Regions from separate parts of the Homo sapiens genome. Here regions 1 and 2 are each linked to region 3. Evidence: promoter capture Hi-C in 16 types of primary human blood cells and fetal thymus (Javierre and others, 2016). All regions are on one chromosome and are shown on one strand. Each heading gives the region's core, a stretch centred on a gene start or on the middle of the fragment in contact. The rest is flanking DNA. Distances are from core to core; before and after follow the strand shown.

Evidence for each region. Contacts are between HindIII fragments. The CHiCAGO score rates a contact against its expected background, and 5 or more counts as called.
Region 1: a fragment that was not itself captured here is called in contact with the fragment with the promoter of TOP2A in region 3 in 1 of 17 cell types (neutrophils); the score reaches 5.4 in neutrophils.
Region 2: a contact is called between a fragment that was not itself captured here and the fragment with the promoter of TOP2A in region 3, in 1 of 17 cell types (neutrophils). The highest score is 5.3, in neutrophils.

Annotation. Positions count from the first base shown.
Region 1 is chr17:40,081,891-40,085,763 of GRCh38, reverse strand. THRA (thyroid hormone receptor alpha) reads right to left here. Exons shown (of 9, transcript NM_199334.5): 5 at 1,782-1,929; 6 at 949-1,154. Among named protein-coding and RNA genes, the nearest start is that of NR1D1, 17 kb to the left of the region's middle. The HindIII fragment of the contact is 5,422 bases long and covers 1-3,873 here.
Region 2 is chr17:40,063,875-40,067,612 of GRCh38, reverse strand. The region is part of intron 1 of THRA (thyroid hormone receptor alpha); the gene reads right to left. Among named protein-coding and RNA genes, the nearest start is that of THRA, 2.8 kb to the right of the region's middle. The HindIII fragment of the contact is 1,656 bases long and covers 592-2,247 here.
Region 3 is chr17:40,415,562-40,419,237 of GRCh38, reverse strand. TOP2A (DNA topoisomerase II alpha) reads left to right here and starts at 1,342. Exons shown (of 35, transcript NM_001067.4): 1 at 1,342-1,467; 2 at 2,343-2,498; 3 at 2,726-2,816; 4 at 3,170-3,233. The coding sequence starts at 1,447. RefSeq lists enhancers at 1,347-1,436, 1,158-1,683. The HindIII fragment of the contact is 7,280 bases long and covers 1,067-3,676 here.

The DNA.
Region 1 (3,873 bases), core at 656-3,155, 330 kb after region 3:
GCTGAGGCAGGAGAATCGCTTGAAGCCGGGAGGTAGAGGTTGCGGTGAGCCAAGACTGTGCCACTGCACTCCAGCCTGGACAACAAGAGCGAAACTCCAACTCAAAAAAAAAAAAAAATTATTCATAGAGGGTGGGCATGGTGGCTCACATCTTGTAATCACAGCACTTTGGGAGGCCGAGGCGGGTGGATCACTTGAGGTCAGGAGTTCGAGACCAGCCTGGTCAACATGGTGAAACCCTGTCTCTACTAAAAACACAAAAATTAGCCAGGCATGGTGGCCAGTGCCTGTAATCCCAACTACTCGGGAGACGGAGGCGGGAGAATCGCTTGAACCCAGGAGGCGGAGGTTGCGGTGAGCCGAGATCGTGCCACTGCACTCTAGCCTGGGTGAGAGTGAGACTCCGTATCAAAAAAAAAAAAAATTATTCATAGAGGTGGGATCTCTGTATGTTACCCAGACTGGTCTCAAACTCCTGGGCTCAAGCGATCCTCCCACCTTGGTCTCACAAATTGCTGGGATTACAGGCATGAGCCACTGCACCTGGTCCCAAACTCATCATTTACTTAGCAACTAGCTTGACCAGGGCCTAACATAATGCCTGGCACCCAGCAGGTGCTCAAAAATACTGTGACATAACTGTATCCTTACCCTCTCCTCCCAGTCACTAAGGGCAGGAAAAAGAAGAAAGGTCGCTCCCGCTCCCTGGAAATTCGATGAGGAAGGCAAGGCCCTGTCCTCATTGAGCTCCCAGTTGGATGGAGTAGACAGTCCAGACAGCAAGGACACAAACACAAGTGTATAAAATCTGGACAGCAAAAGTGTGAAGAGTATGTATTTTGGGTTGGATTACACTAAGAAGACTTCCTGGAGGAGGCAAGACTCCGAGCTCACTCTCTTCTCCCTGCCACCTGGCTACTGCTCTCCCCATGCCCCCTTTCTCCTTACCAGGAATTTCCGCCTCTGTTTCCAATGGCTGCCCTGGGCATTGGTGCTGCGATGGGCCTCTGTGGCAATGTGGATCAGATCCCACTCTTCAGGAGTGGGCTCTGGTCGCTGCTGCAGTGATCGGATCATCTCCTCCTTCCGCCGCCGCTCCCGGTTCTGCTCAATCAGCTTACGCTTGGCCACCCGCTTCGAGTCATCTAGAACCACTGTGAACAGAGAGGCACAAGGTCTAACGCATGGCACCCTCCATCCCCTTTCCATAATGCTCCCGGAAACTACTCTTCCTAGAGTACAGGTTGGAGAAACCGAGGGCCATGGAGGCTAAATGACTTCCCAAATCACCTAGCAGTTGGGCAGCACAACCCGGATCATGATTAATCCCCGGGACCATGTCAACAACAGTTTGGGCTGATCCAGATGAATATCATGTTCTGGTCTAACGGATTATGGTGACGGTGGTTACTCGAATATCCTGCCACCCAATCCCCAGCCAATGGAAGATGCCCTGTCTCATCTAGAAGTGGGGTGCCTTCGCTGGGAGTCAAGAACAGTGTGCTAGAGTGGGTGCCCAGGAGCTCTTTCTACCAAACGACTCCCTCTCTAAGGCCCTCGAGTGTTGTAAGGCAGGTAGGCATTGGGGCCCACACAGGGATCCTGTTTCCTTTTGCGCAGGAAGGAGGACAGCAAGGACCAAGACACTGAACATTCTGACCTAGACTGGATTGCCACTCTGCCCTGTGGGCTCTGAGGGTACCCTGGAAGGAAGCTGCCCTCCCAGAACTCATCCCCACCCCAGGCCACCTGGCTCTATTCCCTCCACCTGGGCCCCTTACAGTCCATGGCCATGCCCACGGCGATGCACTTCTTGAAGCGGCACAGCTGGCACTGATTGCGGGTGATCTTGTCAATGACACAGCAGCTGTCATATTTGCAGGAATAGGTGGGATGGAGGTTCTTCTGGATTGTGCGGCGAAAGAAGCCCTGGGGTGGGGGAGATGGAGCAGGCTGTGATCATGACATGGCTTCCCCTTCCTGAACCAACCATGCAGTTTACTAGGGGTCAGGGGTGGAGAGCAAGGAAGGCAAGATCAGTGAGGGGACCTGGCATCCTCCTGACACCATGAGCCCAAGATTACTAGGCTCAAGGACCTGAGAAATATATGCCCTCAGCCCCCAGGCTGCTGAGGGGTTGGGGGTGTCTGGGTAGTGTTTGTGGCAGAGGCAGGAATGATGTCTAGAGCAGGCAGCTTTGAACCTGGGATAATGTGAGGCCTTAAGGAATAGCAGCTTTGGAAATCCAAGTCGCCGGGCGCGGTGGCGCACGCATGTAATCCCAACACTTTGGGAGGCCGAGGTGGGCAGATCAACTGAGGTCGGGAGTTCGAGACCAGCCTGACCAACATGAAGAAACCCTGTCTCTACTAAAAATAGAAAATTAGCCGGGCATGAGGTTGGGTGCAGTGGCTCATGCCTATAATCCCAGAACTTTGGGAGGCCAAGGCGGATGAATCATGAGGTCAGGAGTTCAAGATCACCCTGGCCAACATGGTGAAACCCTGTCTCTACTAAAAGTATAAAAATTGGGCGTAGGCCGGGCGCGGTGGCTTATGCCTGTAATCCCAGCACTTTGGGAGGCTGAGGCAGGCGGATCACAAGGTCAGGAGATCGAGACCATCCTGGCTAACACGGTGAAACCCTGTCTCTACTAAAAATACAAAAAAAATAGCCGGGCATGGTGGTGGGCGCTGTAGTCCCAGCTACTCGGGAGGCTGAGGCAGGAGAATGGCGTGAACCCAGGAGGTGGAGCTTGCCACGAGCCAAGATCGCGCCACTGCACTCCAGGCTGGGTGACAGAGCAAGACTCCGTATAAAAAAAAAAAAAATTACCCGGGCGTGGTGGTGGGCGCCTGTAATCCCAGCTACTCAGGAGGCTGAGGCAGAGAATTGCTTGAACCCAGGACACAGAGGTTGCAGTGAGCCAAGATCGCGCCACTGCATTCCAGCCTGGGTGACAGAATGAGACTCCATCTCAAAAAAAAAAAAAAAAAAAAAAAAAAGCATGCGATTCTATAGTGTAGCAGTTATCACATCTGCTTTACATGCAGAAGGTCCTAGGTTTGAGCCGCGGTGGAACCACGGCGGGGTCCACCCCTTGGCCGGGCGCGGTGGCTCATGCCTGTAATCCCAGCACTTTGGGAGGCCCAGGCGGGCAGACTGCCTGAAGTCAGGAGTTCAAGACCAGCCTGGCCAACATGGTGAAACCCCATCTCTACTAAAAATATAAAAATTAGCTGGGCCTGCCCCTGTAATCCCAGCTACTCGGGAGGCTGAGGCAGGAGAATCGCTTGAACCCAGGAGGTGGAGCTCGCATTGCACTCCAGCCTGGGTGACAAGAGTGAGACTTCATCTCAAAAAAGAAAAAAAAAAGAAAAAATTAGCCGGGAATGGTGGCACATGCCTGTAATCCCAGCTACTTGGGAGGCTGAGGCAGAAGAATTGCTTGAACCCAGGAAGCAGAGGTTGCGGTGAGCCAAGATTGTGCCATTGCACTCTAGTCTGGGCAACAAGAGCAAAACTCTGTCTCAAAAAAAAAAAAAAAAAAAAAAAAGGAAATCCAAGTAAAACCTCATTTTCCATTTTGCTAAATGACTTTAAAAACAACACTGACCCAAAAACCATTCTCATATATGTTGCCTGTTGTCCATGCAGGTGGAATTCATAAAACAGGGGAACCAAAAAAGTCAAGGAAAGGGACTGAGTATGAACTCTAGTAGGGGAAGAGAAAAATTTCAATTCTCTACATTGGGATTCACCTTTATTTTATTTTTTTAATTTAATTTTTTTTTTCTTTTTGAGATGAAGTTTCACTCTGTCACCCAGGCTGGAGTGCAGTGGTGTGATCTCAGCTTACTGCAACCTCCACCT
Region 2 (3,738 bases), core at 170-2,669, 350 kb after region 3:
TCCTGATCACCAGACTCACAAAGGCAAAGAGGCAACCCAGGACAGATGCTGGATCTCAAAGTGCTGTGCCCACCACACTGGTCATTACTCAGTGCTTCAGTTTCTCTCTGCCACCACCTTTCACACTAAGTACCACTCCATGGAGGGCAGGGGAATCTGGTGCCTATCAGCCAGAGCTGGGTCCTGGTTGACCAATGCTGGGCTCCCAGGAGGGAGGAAGGGCACTGCCTCCTCTTTGAGCCCACACATAAGAGAGGGGACGGCTTTCCTTGTTCTCTCTCTCCCACCCCCAGAGCTCAGACCCTGAACAGAGATGCAGTGATGCCCAAAGATTTATGCAGGTGCCCCTAGCTGGTGGGGTGTGTCCCAGGCTGAGGGGCCAAGGGCTCCTTGTAAGCTGAAGGGCGAGGGTCAAAGGAGGGTGGGGCAGAGGGGCCTGCCTTGGGCTCTTTCCCATACACTCATTCCAGGCTGCAAAAATTTGTCTGGGAGGAAAAGATTACATGACGGTGAGAAGGCTGGAAATTGGAGACCCACTGCCCCAGGCCCCAGTCTCACTGATGTCTAGGAGACCCAATTCTCCACGAAGCTTCTCTAAGAAATCTGGGAGACCCCAGGCCCACAGCTTCCTTCACCCATCACAACCGCTCACATATACAGTTTGTTATGAACTAGGCACTTTTAAAAACATTTTTCCTCAAAAAAGCTAAATGAGGTAGATATGATCATCCCCAATTTACAGATGAGGCAACGGGGAAGTTAAATCGCTTGCTCAAAGTCACACATCCAGCAAGTGACAGAGCTGGGATTCAGACCTAGGCAGTCCAGGTCAATCATGGCCGTCATGATCATCACCATCATCTCTGTTCTTAGCTGTGATGGTATATCACCTGCTTGATAGATAATGCCTTGTTCTTTTTTGTTTTTCTTTTTTTTTTTTTTTTTTTTTGAGACGGAGTCTCGCTCTGTCACCCAGTCTGTAGTGCAGTGGTACAATCTCAGCTCACTGCAACCTCCACCTCCTGGGTTCAAGCGATTCTCCTGCCTCAGCCTCCTGAGTAGCTGGGATTACAGGACCCCGCCACCACACCCAGCTAAGTTTTGTATTTTTAGTAGAGATGGGGTTTCACCATCTTGGTCAGACTGGTCTTGAACTCCTGACCTCAGGTGATCTGCCTGCCTCCGCCTCCCAGTGTGCTAGGATTACGGGTGTGAGCCACTGTGCCCGGCCCAATGCCTTGTTCTTTCATCCAGCTATGTGTTCCCTGAGACCAAGCCTCAGTCTTTCCCCTCTGTAGCTGCCCTGTGGGTTCTCTGCCAAGTGCCTCCACCTCCAAATAGTCCAAGGCTAGAGGGGAGCATAGCGAGAAGTGCTTGGTGCCCCCGGGCTCGATGTCTCCTGCCTGAGTTCCCCCTCCTCAAATTCCCTCTCCAGAAGAGGTACCCCTTCTAGGCTGGAACCTGCACTCACGGGTGGGAGGGCCTCGCTTAGTACATACTTAGTCTAGGCAGCTGTGCCCTCAGAACCAGGCCCTGAGGCTGGGCAAAAAGGACACAGCTGTTGGGCATCTCTGAGGTGGGCCTCAGCTGCCAGGGGTGTGGAGAAAGGCCATTGTGAGCCCTGCAGTGGACCCAACTCAGCAGGGTCCTGCCAGCTCCCGCCACTGCCCATGGGGGCGGTTCTTTTCCAGCTTGGGCCAGTGTGGGGGGAGCCTCTTCATGGCTTGTTTAAGAGCTGCTAGCTGGCTGCAGCCTGCACCCTGAGGGTGCCCACAGAACTGGTGTCTCCAGACATGCAGGCCCGAGGGGTCAGCATGGGCAGTGGCTGACCCCCCCCCCCTTCCCCCATTCCCAGCCCCTAAAACTTGCTGGCCACAGCTGCGGCACTAAGGAAGTGCAGGAAGTCCTGAGCAGCCAGCTGAGCCCCCCGCCCCCCACCCCAACCTCAAGCTGACCCCAGAGGCTGCGCAGGGGGGGCAGAGGGGCGGAGCTTGGGTATTAACAACTGGAAAAGTATGAAGAACATTGCTGCCAGTCCCCAGCTCTGAGACAAGGACAGGGGTAGATCGGGGGTAGCAACAGGGTGAGAGAGAGTTACAGACTGGCAGAGAAACAAGGAGAGAGAGAGGGAGAATCAGACACTGCAAGACAGAGCAACAGAGAGACAGAGTTAGAGAGAAATTCCAAGTCAAAAGTACATATCACTCACACAGACACTCGCCAGCCGATGGCCTCTTAAGGAAAGCTTCCAAGTTTGGACAGGAGGGTACAGGTGGGAAAAAGGGCCAGACTCAAGGTGGGGCGCAGGAACTCAGCTGGAAGTGACTGACTGTTCCCAGGAAAGACCCAGGCAAATGACTCAGAGCAGGGGCAGTTAGACACCCCTGAGCTTTTAGGGTAGGGAGGAGAGCAGCTCTCCCCTTCCCCAACAGTCAAGAGAATCCTAGCTTCTAGAAGTCACTGGACACTGCTTTGAGCCCATGACTCGGCCCTCTGGAACCCCCCTGAACCCACTGTCTTTGCTCTTGTTTCTCTGTCCCTCTAAAAGAAAGAAAGAAAAAAAAAACAGCCCATTCCCGCACAGTGGCTGAGCCTAGAGGAAAAAGGGGAGGAGGAAGCTGAAGGGGAAAAATTTGTGATTGTGTGCATCTAAGTGTGTGCTCGGCTGCACAGGCTGCAGTTGTGTGTATCTGGGGTTGTGTGGACACGACTGTTGGTGTGGACCTGCAACTGTGGGGACCTGGGCCTTGTGAACTCATTCTGCACCTGAGTTCAGGGGACCATGTGCAAATGAGTGCACCTGTGTCTGCAGGTTCCACAGTCAATCAACTAACAAGTATTTACAGAGCAGCCCTTGTGCTAGGCTCTGCGTGGGATCCAGAGCTCTTTAAGTGATTCTCCCAGGTCTCCAAGAGCTCACTGTCTAGTAGGGTGGTATCTCAAGCGATAGAGACCAAGAACATGTCATTGGGAATGCATGCTTTACACCATTACGCAGGAACACTTTTTCATACAGCCAAATTTAATATTCTTGGGAGCAAGGGTTTTGTTGCCTACAGAACCTCAGAGCTCCACAGTAAAGAGTCCAGGAAAATACTTGTTGCTAAGTTGTGTATACATGTGTTGGTGTGTAACTGTGTTTGCATCTGACTGAGTGACAGCGACTGTCACGGCAAGCAATGATGTCTGTGTGACTGGGCTCATGCGAGCACGTGTGTGCCTGTGAGTGACAGGGTCTTTTGTAATTGTGCTGCTGTGTGCAATTGCTCTGTGTGCATGCATGCATGTGACAGTGACTTTTTATGTGTGGGTGACAGCAACTCCTCCTTGCCCCAGTGTGTGACAGCATCTACGTGTGACCCTGTGCGTGGGTATGTGCATGGATCGGTCCCCATGCTCTTGGTCTCCCATGGGTATATCCCACCCCTCAGAGCTCCACGGTGCAGCAGCAGCCTGTCTCTTCCCTTGTCCCCATGTGGGTGTGTCCAGTAGCTCCTGTCCTTGAGTCTGCCTGGGTGTCCCTGGATGTGCATGTGGCTGTCTGTGTGGACATATCTCTGTGTCTGCGTGTCACTTTTGCTTCCCCCCTCATTTTGGACAACAGCCCCCTTCATCCCCTCCCCCTCCTGGAGCCAAAGCCAGCACTGAGGGGCAGGCTCCCACCTCACTGGCTTTCCTTCTGTGTCCCCCACCCCCACCCCTGGAACGGTGGTTCTTTCAATTGCCCCTGTCATCCCC
Region 3 (3,676 bases), core at 93-2,592:
TTGAACCCGCGAGGTGAAGGTTGCAGTGAGCCTAGATCGCGCCATTGCACTCCAGCCTGGGCGACAGAGTGAGATTCCATCTCAAAAAAAAAAAAAGCAACAAAAAAACAAGCAAACAAAAAAGCTTCAGTCTTGGCATTTCCTTGTCAAATTGGAACAGCTGTTCTGGACTGCAGGGTTCACGGAGGTGAGCAAAAGTAGCCAGTCGGAGGGTATCTGGCCAGCTGGCTGCGGAAAAGGTTTCAGCCCCGGACGGCTGAGCCCACCCTCAGCTCAAGAGGCTACCACCACAAGTTATCCCTTTCGATTTACCAGTTGCAGTCCAGCGCTGCTCTACTGGGGACCTGAATGCTGCCCTCCATTTTGCAAAGCCTTTCTACATCCTTCCACTATATGGAACCCCCAAACCACAACTGTGGCACTTTTATTTTAATTATTTTTATTATTTATTTATTTATGTATTTATCTCTTGAGGTGGCCTCGCTCTGTCACTCAGGCTGGAGTGCAGTGGAGCAATCACGGTTCAAGGCGCCTCGATCTCCGATCCCCGGGGCTCAAGCGATCCTCCCTCCTCAGCCTCCGGAGCTGGAGTTACAGGTGTGCGATGCCTCGCCTGGCTATTTTTTTTCCTTTTTGGGTAGAGACGGGGTCTCGCTATGTTGCCCAGGCTGGTCTCCAACTCCTAGGCTCCAGCGATCCTCCCGCCTCGGCCTCCCAATGTGCTGCGAATACAGACTCCAGCCACCGCACACAGCCTACTTTTATTTCTTTGAAAAATGAATTCGAGGGTAAAGGGGGCGGGGTTGAGGCAGATGCCAGAATCTGTTCGCTTCAACCAAGCAGCCAGGCTGCCTGTCCAGAAAGCCGGCACTCAGTTTCCTCAGGAAAACGAAGCTAAGGCTCCCATTCCCCTCGCTAACAACGTCAGAACAGAGGACAGTTTTTAGATTTCAGGGATCTTAAATAGATTGGCAGTTCCTGGAGAATAAACATCCTTTGCTTTTCTCCTGCACACTTTTGCCTCAGGCCACCCCTTCCCGCTTCCAAAGCCCATCTCTTCCAAGCTTTCCGCACGAGAAAACAAGTGAGCCCTTCTCATTGGCCAGATTCCCTGTCAATCTCTCCGCTATGACGCCGAGTGGTGCCTTTTGAAGCCTCTCTAGTCCCGCCTCCCTAACCTGATTGGTTTATTCAAACAAACCCCGGCCAACTCAGCCGTTCATAGGTGGATATAAAAGGCAAGCTACGATTGGTTCTTCTGGACGGAGACGGTGAGAGCGAGTCAGGGATTGGCTGGTCTGCTTCGGGCGGGCTAAAGGAAGGTTCAAGTGGAGCTCTCCTAACCGACGCGCGTCTGTGGAGAAGCGGCTTGGTCGGGGGTGGTCTCGTGGGGTCCTGCCTGTTTAGTCGCTTTCAGGGTTCTTGAGCCCCTTCACGACCGTCACCATGGAAGTGTCACCATTGCAGGTACGGCTCGCGGGGGGGACTGGCGGTGGAGCCTCCGCGCGGCCCGGGCATCTCTCTGGCCGCCCGTGACGGGTGAAGCTCTGGGGCTGCGGTCAGGCCGGCGACCGGCTTGGGAGCCCATATTCTCCATTCCCGGTTCCGGGGTGATCGTGGAGAGGCGGAAGCCCCTTCTGGTGCTAGTAGTGAAGTATGACCCGGCTTCCAGGGTGTCGTGCGTTGTTGCCCTGTTTCTAGGGGCAGGAGTCCGTTGGTCCCGTAGTGGATCCATGTTACAGCGGCCCGGGTGCGACGTTATTGAGTCGCGCGTACAGATGCTTTCCCCTCCTGCCCGCTGCTTGAAAACGGTCTTGAATGTCCCCGATCTTGGAAAGGGCAGAGCCTAGCACAGTGTTTCTCTGGAGCAGCTGGCCAGCTTACAAAAGCGCCCCCTTCCTGAGTTCACAACGCTCAGGTGGCCAAGGGATTGAACGGATAGCCGCCCAAACTGCTGCTGCCGAACTAGAATTATTTACGGTGTCGTGTGCTCGGGACACCGTAAATAATTTATAATAATAGGCACTCGGTAAATAATGTATGCAGGAACTGAAAGAAGTGGGTGTATTTTATTGATGACATCTACCATGTTGCTCAAGAAAAGAGGTTTCCAGACAGACCCACTTGGTGAGATAATATGTGTCTGTTTAACCTGACACCTGGGGACCTGGCCGCAGCGAATTTAAATTGTCCTATTTGTACAAAACTGGCAACTCCACCACTGCCTACTAACAGATTGCAATGCATGTTGACATCTCACTATGGTAGGCATTTTGTTCCTAGTTTAGGGTAAACTTATGATTAAAAATTCCCTTCTTTCTCTCTTTTTTTTTAATTGCTAGCCTGTAAATGAAAATATGCAAGTCAACAAAATAAAGAAAAATGAAGATGCTAAGAAAAGACTGTCTGTTGAAAGAATCTATCAAAAGAAAACACAATTGGAACATATTTTGCTCCGCCCAGACACCTACATTGGTTCTGTGGAATTAGTGACCCAGGTAAAATCAAGCTCATCAAAGGCAGTTAACCTAGTAGTTGAAATGGATACTCTTCTTTCTGTACCTTTCATGTACTGAGTGTGACCTTTCTGTATCTCTCATGTACTGAGTGTCACTGGAACTGGCCTAAATATGGTAATACTTAATATGAACACTTTATGGTAATCATGATAACAGAACAATGAATATAGAATAAAAATAACAGTATTTCTTTGCCTTATTTCTAGCAAATGTGGGTTTACGATGAAGATGTTGGCATTAACTATAGGGAAGTCACTTTTGTTCCTGGTTTGTACAAAATCTTTGATGAGATTCTAGGTGAGTAAATCCTTTAATATAAAGATCTGGTCAAATCTTTCATAAGAAGTATCATTCCAAATAAAAATTTAAAAAAGATAAAAGTAAAAACAAAAAGTATCATTTCTACCAAACCTGCTGTAGCCAGGGCTCCTGTCATTTCAATCAGTTGATAAAGGTGAGCTGGTTTCCTGGAGCCCAGGAGGTTGAGCTTCTCGTAGAAACAGTACTATGGACAAAAATTGCTAAATTAACACCTTGTTAATGCCACTCCTGTGCTGTTTGGGAACTTTTTTTTCTATATCTTACTTAGAGTTACAGAATGTTTCTTAAAACACTAATTTCTTACAAATGTATATTTTATTTTCTTTCAGTTAATGCTGCGGACAACAAACAAAGGGACCCAAAAATGTCTTGTATTAGAGTCACAATTGATCCGTACGTCTTTTGCTTAGTTTTTGTTATGTAGCTCGTTGCTATTGTTAGCTGCATGTATTTTGATTACTGGTGAAGTTGGCTTTTCCTAAACAGAAGTTGAGAAAAGTACACAAAAGCAGAATGCTAAAATGAAAAACCTATGGATACCCACCACCTAGATCCAACAGTTGCCAACGTTTTTCCATATTTTCTCCATCTTTTTTTTAATTAGTTAATTTTTTTAGAGGAAGGGGTCTTGCTATTTTGCCTGGGCTGGTCTTAGAACTCCTGGCCTGAAGCAATCCTCCAGTGTTGGCATTATGGGTGTGTGCCATGGCACGCGGCCTATTTGCTCTGGATCATTTCAAAATAAATTACAGGACTTATGACACCTAATCCCTAAATATTTGAGCAAGCACCTTCAGTAATTGCTTTAAGTATTCTGGCATCTGGAGTTTTAACTT